Linked DNA regions of Homo sapiens: region 2 is linked to region 1. The links are contacts of gene promoters, found by promoter capture Hi-C in blood cells and fetal thymus (Javierre and others, 2016). All regions are on one chromosome and are shown on one strand. Each heading gives the region's core, a stretch centred on a gene start or on the middle of the fragment in contact. The rest is flanking DNA. Distances are from core to core; before and after follow the strand shown.

Region 1 (4,870 bases), core at 2,371-4,870:
AGTAAAGGAGATTAAAAAGCAGTCCCATGAGGTAGGAGAAAAACTCAGAAGGAAACAGAATCTAAAAACCCAAAATAAGAAACTGTTTCAAGGAGAGAATGGTTAACTTTACCAAATGCTGAAAGTGAAGTAGGAAGAGGACAGAGGACCACAGAAGCTGGAGGATGTGGCTGTAGGTGGCATAAATAAGAGCAATTTTATTGGATTAGTGGGACTGAAAGCCAGACTGGAGCAAACAAGAGAGGCTGTGAGGCAAGGAAGTAGATGAGGAGTATACACAATCCTTCTGAAAAAGGAGAAATGGAACTAGAGAAAACAAGGACAGGAATAGGTTTGTTTGTTTGTTTTAAATATGAGTTAACATTTATGTGCTGATGGAAATGACATGATTTCCATGGTAGAGGTAGAAAATTACTGATTCAGGAAAGGGAATGAATAGTTGAGAGAGGATAAGATTGAATGCAAAGTGAAGGAACTGGCCACAGATTGGAACAGAAGGAGCTCACCCACTGTAACAAGAGAAAAGGCAAAGAATTATCACATATCAACTATTAGAGTTTATGGTGGGAAAATGACTGTTCTCATCTGATTCCTTTGATTTCTCTGTAAAGCTGAGAATGAGACAAAAGCACATGTTAGAGGTTTTAGGAAACTCGCTATGTTAAGTAATGATTATGGAGACAAGGAAACCAAATTTCCTAGAAAAATGTAGCACTGAAAATCTACTTGAGATTTGTATTCATGAATTTAAAATAAGGCCAGTTAGTCTGAAGTTTTCCCTAGCCCCGTTCTCCATTGCTCAGTGGCAGGCAGCAAATTACGTGGAAAGTTTTGTTTAATCAGGGTCAATGTTTTTTACGACAATGGGAGTTGGGCTGGGGAGTTGAGGATGCATAAAAGGGAATGATAAGAGTGAAGAGTAAGGAAATGAGGACATAGGATAAGACAGGCAAAAGATGGCAGAGTCAATGAACTGGGAAGAATTACTTGAGTTGAGGAATTAATACCTCAAAGGACTGTTAAGAGGATTAAACATACATAAACCACGTAGCACATTACCTAGAGCACATTAAGCATTCTATGAATAATAGTTGCTTTTATTACTTTGAAATTTCTCAGAAGGTAATGTCACACTAACCTCACATGGCTATTGTTTTTTTTTAATAATTATGGGCCAAGAATTATTCTAGAAACTGTGACTATCACAGTAAAATACAAAACCCTGGCTTCATGAAGCTCACAGTTTAAAGGGTTAATGAGAATAACATATGGGCAAGCATCTGTCACAGTGCCTTGCAAATACTAGGTGCTCAATAAATATAAATTATTACTCTCTTTGGTTCCAGCCTCTCCACTTTCTTCCATTTATTATGAGTACTATTAGAAGAATGATATTCTTTATTAATTATATATTCATTATATTTCTCTGCTTAAAAACCTACATTAGTTTCCTACTGCAATACCCAAACCAATAGTCCAGACATATTTGCTTGCACACTGCATTAATTTTTTTAAGTATTTATTTAAAAAATTATATGCACGTTCTATGTAGTACCAATATGATATACACATTATAAATCATACATTACTTAGAATAGTGTGTGGCATACAGTTTAAACTACATAAGTGTTAGCTATTATTACTATAGAAAGCAATTTTTAGGAGTTCTAATTTATATTTCCACAACTTATTAGGTCCTCTTGCACAACTCCCTTTGGAGACTACCGATCTAAACTCTGCTTGGCTTTCAAAGGTCTCCATTGTCTGATCCCATCTAACACATTCAACCTCCTTTTCCACTATCCCAGATATTCAGGTAGTCATTTCACTGCCTCTTGAATACCTCATGACTCCATTCTCACCCACTTGTCTTTGCCAGAGGACTTTCCAGATCATAACAGCCCTAAAGAGACCAGTGGGAGCACTACAATTCTCCACTGGTCTTCCAATCATCCCTCAGTACCTCAAATGATACTAATCTTTCCCTTTTATGATTTCCTGTGATACTTAATAGTCTTGCCACACTTAACTATATATAGTTGTCTTACACAGTTCTGTCCTATAGTGTGTGGATTATGTTACATACTAGACTTGCCTCTACAGAATTTACTCAAAAACTTACTTTACCAGACAATAACGCAGAGTGGTTAAGAACACAAGCTATGGTGTCAGTCAGAGGAAAGTAAGTTAAAAGAGGAAAATTAATAAAAATACCTAGAACTGGAGATTGCAGATAGCAGGTACTCAATAAATAGTGATTACCATTCACAATCTACATTACGTCATACAATTGTAATAGTTTAACAAGAACCAGCAAATGTCTTTGCAAAGACATTGTGACTACAAAACCATCCACTATAAGTGATGTGCACCACCACCTTCCCAGTGGTATGCAGGAGTTCTACCCAAGATGGAAAACAAAAAAAAAAGGATCCTCTAAACACTCCTAATTCTTGCCTCAGGCTGAACATCAAGCCTATCTGTGGTGCTTTTAAAAATTTAAGGTGCAAGGAGCTAATCTCACAAATTCTGACTCAATAGCTCTACACTCAGTCCTCATTTCTAATTTTTATAAAGCTTTACGAGTGATTCTGACATGAGCCAATTTTGAAAGCAAATGATATTCTGTAACGACTAAAATACACTAAGAAAAATACAACTTTGGGGGTTTGATTGGAATATGTTTGTGGAAGAGTAGAGGGTGAAAGGACAATGATGAAGTGTAACCGTATTTCTAATTTCCTTGCTTTTTAGTGAGTGGAAGGACAAATGTATGTTTTCAGTTTGAGGAGTGGGAGCAGATCCAATCAGAACAGAAGAGAAACTAAATAATGCTAACAAATTCTAACATAGCCTTCATTCTTCACTTTCCTTTCCACCAAGCTCCTGATTCTTCTCTCCTCAAACATCACTCTCTCCCCCAGACCCCAACGCACTTTGCCGAACACATTCTACATCCGTAGAGACGCTTTTGGGTAAAAGGATGCTTTTACAAATATTAGCTCATTTAATCTTATCAGAGACTCCCTGGTATTGTAATATTATCATTTCCATTGTGCTCATATGAATTGAGACCCATTAAGGGTTTGCACAAGGTCATAAAATCAATCTAAGAAAACCTCTCGCCACTAGCCTTTTTTCCCTCCCTTACACATTTCTCCCCCCGCCCCATACAAATATTTCTCATAACCCTAAACCCTTACAACCATATCAGAATTCTGATTCTCTCGATCCCTAACGTGTCCCCCGCATTCTCCTCTTCGCTTACAGCTGCTTAAGATCTTTTGTCCCCTCCCAAGGTGGTGCACAATTGAATATGTGAGCCGGGGAAGCGGAAAGCGAAAGGAGAAACCAGACTGAGGCAGCTCCAAACCTAGAGAAACCAGAGTGTGCCTAGGAAGTTGGCGTGACCGCTGCAGCACGGTGCCACTTCCAAAACCTTAAATCCCCGTCTCGGAATCCCGACCAGGGGCCGCCGTTCCCGGTAACACTTACGTGACATTGACAGGACCCGGACAACCCGGGATTGTGCGGCAGCCGCCATCTTTTCCCACAATCCCCCACGACAGCACTCCCGGCTGACTACGGCTGCTAAGCTGGGTCAAAACTTACCTTTCTCGCCTGTCTGCGCAAGCGCTAACCAAGAAACGACGGTTTCGGGTAGATTGTTGGTTAAGAAGAAAGCTGGGAAAGTGAAGGAGAGGGGGAAGAAAGGAAGTGAAAAGACTTTGGCTGTTGGAATCTCAGATCTGGAATAGGCTGTATAGGCTATTTATAATCTCTAATTGCCGAGGAACCTGAAGTTCAGAGTTAACCAGTGACTGACTCAGGACATGCAAAATGGCAAGACCCGAGGTAGAAGAGCTCACCTTTCCTGACTCTCAGTTTCCTGTTCCCTGAAAATGTAAGCTAAGCTGGCAGCCCTGGTGAGTCCGGAGGAAGAAGGAGGCGTAGCCCTCCGCGCTCAGGAGATCCAGGGCCCAGGAGAGAGAAAAGGGGGGACAAGAACGAGGGGAAAAGTGGAGAAGAGAAACCAAAATAGGGTGTGTCCCAAGTAAATAAATGTGCGTCGAGCCCGCCAAGCACATTCTCTCATAGGGACCCTTGCGCCTGCTGTTCGCGTTTCCTGGAATGCACACTCAGGTGTCTGCACCAGCTCAAGTCTCTGCTCAAAAGTGACCTCTTCGGATAAAACTTCTCTGACCATCCTATCCAAGGTGGTAATTATTCCACCAATTTTTGGTTTAAGTTTATATACCAAAGCACTTATCACCAACTAGCATATGAATCTAGGAGTTCTTAACCAGAAGTGTGATTCATGAGTGGGCTTCGGGAAATCTGTGAACTTCCTGAAATATTATGCAAATTTAGTGGCCATGTGTGCCATCTGAACATCTGTCTAAGGAGAAACTGCAGATGGCTCTCTCTAGCGCAATGGCTTGTAATTTTTTCTTTAACTGTGGTCACCTTTGAGAATCTGCATTGTTCTACAAAGAGCCATCTAGAAACTGAGGAAATTCCAGGTTAGACTAAGCGCTTGGATTTTAAAATACTTTATTCTGGTCAACCTCTCCAGATTGCTGGGTAGGAGATGGCAACCAGTGATCCTGTGAAACATACCTTAGGCTTATCAGAAAACCACCTAGTTTGGGGAGGGCGGGTTCTTTCTAGACTTGGTAATCCTTCCAGTGCTTTGTTTTTTCAGGAAAAGTATGTGTTTCTGGGATAGACAAAAAGGCCTGTGATGAGTAGGGATGTAGAAGTTGCTTATTACTAGGCTTGAAATCTTGGCTGTTTCCACTCTATCTTGCCCCTACTGTTTACTGAAGTGTCGCCTAACAAATTGAATTGGAAGAGAGAAAAAAACCTT
Region 2 (4,931 bases), core at 683-3,182, 1.6 Mb after region 1:
ATGTCTGGCCCGGGCGCTTTTTCAGGCCTGGATTTTATGTGTTTTTTGCTTTTTGTTTTGTTTTGTTTTTTCTTGAGACAAGGACTCACTCTGTTGCCCAGGCAGGAGTGCAGTGGTGCGATCACGGCTCACTGCAGCCTCGACTTCCCGGGCTCAAGTGATCCCGCCTCAGCCTCCAGAGTAGTTGGGACTGTAGGCGCGCACCACCACGTCCGGCGAAGTTTTTGATTTTTTTTGTACAGACGGTGGTCTCCCTGGGCCCAAGCTGGTCTCAAACTCCCGGGCTCAAGCCATCCTCCTGCCTCTGCCTCCCAAAGTGCTGGGATTATAGGCCCGGATTCTTAAAGCTAGAAGGCCTAAACTTGTTTCCAAAGAGCACTAAAACGCCATCTCTTCTCATCATTACTGTCATCAAAAATGTCTTCTAGGCCAGGTGTGGTGGCTCACGCGTGTAATCCCAGGACTTTGGGGGGCCCAGGTGGAAGGATTGCTTGAGCTCAGGAACTCAGGAATTCAAGAACAGCCTGGGCAACATAGGGAAACCCCATCTCAAAAAAAAAATGTTTTAATTAACCGGGTGTGGTGGCACACCCCTGTAGTCCCAGCTGCTCCGGAGGCTGAGGCTCAGGCGTTGGAGGCTGCAGTAAACTAGGATCATGCCACTGTACTCCAGCCTGGGCAGTAGAGGGAGACCCTGTCTTTAAAAGTGAAATTTTTTTAAATTTTAAAGAAACTGTATGCTGTGCTTCCCACGTGCCCTACCATTGCACTAAGCTTGACTGGGGACAAGTTTTTAAAACCTGGCTATAATCACTAGGGTCACTTTTGCTTTCTGCTAATTAGACTGGAAGTTTCCACTCATCTTCTGGGCCCCTTTCCGTCACACACATGCAACCTTGTTTTTGTCTATTAGACTAAACCCATAACCCATTTCCTTCTGATCTCCCTTTCCCCACAAGGAAAATATTCTCCTTCTACATTTTGCTTCATCCAAAGCCCTGTTCAATGCCCCTATAACAAAGTCTTCCCAAGGAACCCCCACCAGCCCCAATCTCTCCAGTCACTGCGGCAGAGTTGGGTACATGTACCCAGAAAAGGAAACTGGGTCTCAGACAGGGAAAGAGATATACTAGGATTGTCTGCCAGCAAGCCAACTCACTGGCAGACCATTGGACGCAGCCTGGTGAGGGAGTAGCCGCAGGGCTTGGGAGCCAGACACACCTGTCTGAATCCTGGCTCTGCTTTTATCGGCTGGGACCTCTTCAGGCCTGTTTTCTCACCTGTGGAATGGGGCATAAGAATACCAATTATGGGGATGGGCATGGTGGCTCACACCTGTAATCCCAGTACTTAGGGAGGCCGAGGCGGGTGGATTACCTGAGATCAGGAGTTTGAGACCAGCCTGGCCAACATGGTGAAACCCCGTCTCCACTAAAAATACAAAAATTAGCCGGGTGTGGTGGCACATGCCTGTAATCCCAGCTACTCGGAGGGCTGAGGCAGGAGAATTGCTTGAGCCTGGGAGACGGAGGTTGCAGTGAGCCAAGATCGTGCCACTGCACTCCAGCCTGGTCGACAGAGCGAGACTGTCTCAAAAAAAAAAAAAAAAAAAAACCAATTCCACAGGGTTGATGGGCTGACCAAGATGATGGAGTAAAAGCACAACATGTGATGTGTGGTGACTGCTCTACAAATGCTAGCTTCCTCCTGCCCTTTTTGGTTTTTGTTTTGTTTTGTTGTTTTTGAGACAGGGACTTGTTCTGCCACCCAGGCTGGAGGGCAGTGGTGCCATCATGGCTCACTGCAGCCTCCAACTCCTGGACTCAAGGATCCTCCAACCTCAGACTCCTAAGTAGCTGGGACCACACGTGCATGCCACCATACCCAGCTAATTGGGGTTTTTGTTTGTTTTGTTTTTGTTTTTGTTTTCGTTTTCGTTTTGTTTTGTAGAGACAGAGGCCTCACTATGTTGCTCAAGCTAGTTTTGAACTCCTGGCCTCAAGCAATCCTCCCACCTTGGCCTCCCAAAGTCCTCCTGCCCTTTAAAAAAAGATAGGCGGAGCACAGTGGCTCACACCTGTCATCCCAGCACTTTGGGAGGCCAAGGCAGGTGGATCACTCAAGCCCAGGAGTTCGAGACCAGCCTGGCCAACATGGCAAAACCCCATCTCTACTAAAAATACAAAAATTAGCCAGGTGTGCATGGGCGTGGTGGCACATGCCTGTACGGGAGGCTGAGGTGAGAGGATTGCTTGAGCCCAGGAGGTCAAGGCTGCAGTGAACCATGATTATACCACTGCTCTCCAGCCTGGGTGACAGAGTGAGACTCTGTCTCAAATTAATTAATTAATTAGAGCAAATCTGAAATAATGGAATTCTGAAGTCTTAGAGATAGATGAAATCTTAGAAGAAATCCCTCAGCAATAGCCCAGAAAATGGCTTCACTGCTCACTCTCCTTCACCACATTCAGAGGTGAATGCCTCAGTGCCTCTGAGGGGCTGACAGTTGGAAGGAAGCTCTGAAGAAAAGCTGTAGAGGAGATGGGATTATTCAGCATAAAGGACACAAAGGTGACTAGTGGTCTGTGAAGCAGACACACTGATAGTGTCCACTGAGGACTAAACGCAAGTAAACCTGACAATGACGCACCACCCTCTTGGGGAAGGGACTTACAAACGCATGAAGTCACTGCTTATCATACCAGGCTTCTGAGGAAATGTCATTGCATTTCCCTTCTGGAGGAGATTCTGAAAAATGCTGAGGTTAGATATAGGTAGGGTGACTGTATCCAGGTTTCGGGGGCACATCCTACTTACTCCTCTTGTCCTGGCATAGTTCCTAAGTCCCCTTTCACTCTCGAAATATCCTGGCGTGGATGATAAATTATATGCCATTTTAACTGTGAACAAAGGCAGGACTCCAAACAGCTCCTTCCAGGCCTGGATGTCAGCAACTCTGCTGGAATTTCTGGATCCCCAGGGACTTCAAAGGATAGCATGTCAGTTTATCCCCTTGAAATCACCAAATCAAATCAAAAATGACAATAGGCTAAAATTAAAGTCCCAGCCAACCACCCCAAGTCAAGCTTCAGGACTGTGCCTGCTGAATTGCGACACCTAGTGGCGAAAGTGCACGCTGCCGGAGCGGGGTTCCGCCAACACTTCACATTCGGCCATAGGTTTCAAGTGACTTGCAAAGCAGCTAACAGCTAACATGTACTGTTTATGTGCCAGGCACAGTTCTAAGTACTTTACATGTTCTAACCCACTGATCCTCACAACAACACCATGAGGTAGGTAGTAGCATCACCATCCCGACATTTTTACAGATGAGGAAACTGAGGCTGAGACAGGTTAAGTAATTTCTCCAAGGTCATTTCACCAGCAATTGACTAAGCTAGGATATAACCCCAGGTTGTCTGGCTGGAGGGCCTGCACAGTTAACTACTGCTCCATCCAGAGTGTAATGCACAAAGTTACTTCGGAGGAATCTTCCACCTGAAGAGACTTCCACCACCCCTCTGACATGGAGATGACCTGAGGGTAGAGTGAGAGGTAGAATGTATGAAGAGTTCCACTCTCGGCCAGGCGCAGTGGCTTATGCCTATAATCCCAGCACTTCGGGAGGCTGAGGTGGGTGAATCCCCTGAGGTTAGGAGTTTGAGACCAGCCTGGCCAACATGGTGAAACCCCGTCTCCACTAAAAATACAAAAATTAGCCGGGCCTGTAATCCCAGCTACTCGGGAGGCTGAGACAGGAGAATCACTTGAACCTGGGAGGCGGAGGTTGCAGTGAGCCAAGATCGTGCCACTGCACTCCAGCCTGGGCAACAGGACGAGACTTCGTCTAAAAAAAAAGAGTTCCACTCTCATGTCTACCAGTACAGAATAGTAGTTTCCACATCTATAAAAATCGCCTGGGCCTGGCGTGGTGGCTCACGCCTGTAATCCCAGCACTTTGGAAGGCCGAGGCGGGTGGCTCACCTGAGGTCAGGAGTTCCAGATTAGCCTGGCCAACGTGGTGAAACCCTGTCTCTACTAAAATTACAAAAATTAGCTGGCCGTGGTGGCGGGCGCCTGTAATCCCAGCTACTTGGGAGGCTGAGGCAGGAGAATCGCTTGAACCCGGGAGCGGGGGGTTGCAGTGGGCCAAGATCATGCCACTGCCCTCCAGCCTGGGCGACAGAGCGAGACTCTGTCAAAAAAAAAAAAAAAAGTCGCCTGGGCACGATGGCTCATACCTGTAATCTCAGCACTTTAGGAGGCCGAGGTGGGCGGATCACCTGAGGTCAGGAGTTTGAGACTAGCCTGACCAACATGGTGAAACCGTGTCTCTGCTAAAAATACAAAAAAAAGTTAGCCAGGCGTAGTGGCGAACGCCTGTAATCCCAGCTACTCGGAGGCTGAGGCAGGAGACTTACTTGAACCTGGGAGGCGGAGGTTGCAGTGAGCAGAGATCGCACCACTGCACTCCAGCCTGGGTGACAGAGCAAGACTCCGTCTCACAAAAAAAAAAAAAAAAAAAGGAAAAAAAAATGCTTTCCCAGGCGACCGGGGAAGACGGCGGAGGTGCAGGTCCTGGTGCTCGGTGGTCGAGGCCATCTCCTGGGCCGCCTGGCGGCCATCGTGGCTAAGCAGGTACTGCTGGGCCAGAAGGTGGTGGTCGTACGCTGCGAGGGCATCAACATTTCTGGCAATTTCTACAGAAACATGTTGCATGTTAAAGCACCTGGCCTTCCTCCACAAGCGGATGAACTCCAACCCTTCCTGAGGCCCCTGCCACGTCCGGGCCCCCAACGCATCTTCCTGCGGGCGGTGCGAGGCATGCTGCCCCCCAGGACCAAGCGAGGCCAGGCCGCCCTGGACCGCCTCAAGGTGTCTGACGGCATCCCACCGCCCTACGACGAGAAAAACCGGATGGTGGTTCCTGC

The links. Contacts are between HindIII fragments. The CHiCAGO score rates a contact against its expected background, and 5 or more counts as called.
Region 2: a fragment that was not itself captured here is called in contact with the fragment with the promoter of AKAP3 in region 1 in 2 of 17 cell types (activated CD4 T cells and non-activated CD4 T cells); the score reaches 8.6 in activated CD4 T cells.

What each region holds. Positions count from the first base shown.
Region 1 is chr12:4,647,801-4,652,670 of GRCh38, reverse strand. AKAP3 (A-kinase anchoring protein 3) reads left to right here and starts at 3,620. Exons shown (of 6, transcript NM_001278309.2): 1 at 3,620-3,926. NDUFA9 (NADH:ubiquinone oxidoreductase subunit A9) reads right to left here and starts at 3,557. Exons shown (of 11, transcript NM_005002.5): 1 at 3,496-3,557. The coding sequence starts at 3,544. RefSeq lists enhancers at 3,132-3,787, 3,656-3,865, 4,146-4,195. The HindIII fragment of the contact is 2,310 bases long and covers 2,580-4,870 here.
Region 2 is chr12:3,071,778-3,076,708 of GRCh38, reverse strand. It overlaps the pseudogene RPL13AP24. Among named protein-coding and RNA genes, the nearest start is that of TSPAN9, 3.1 kb to the left of the region's middle. RefSeq lists a silencer at 3,041-3,190 and an enhancer at 2,972-3,266. The HindIII fragment of the contact is 2,312 bases long and covers 777-3,088 here.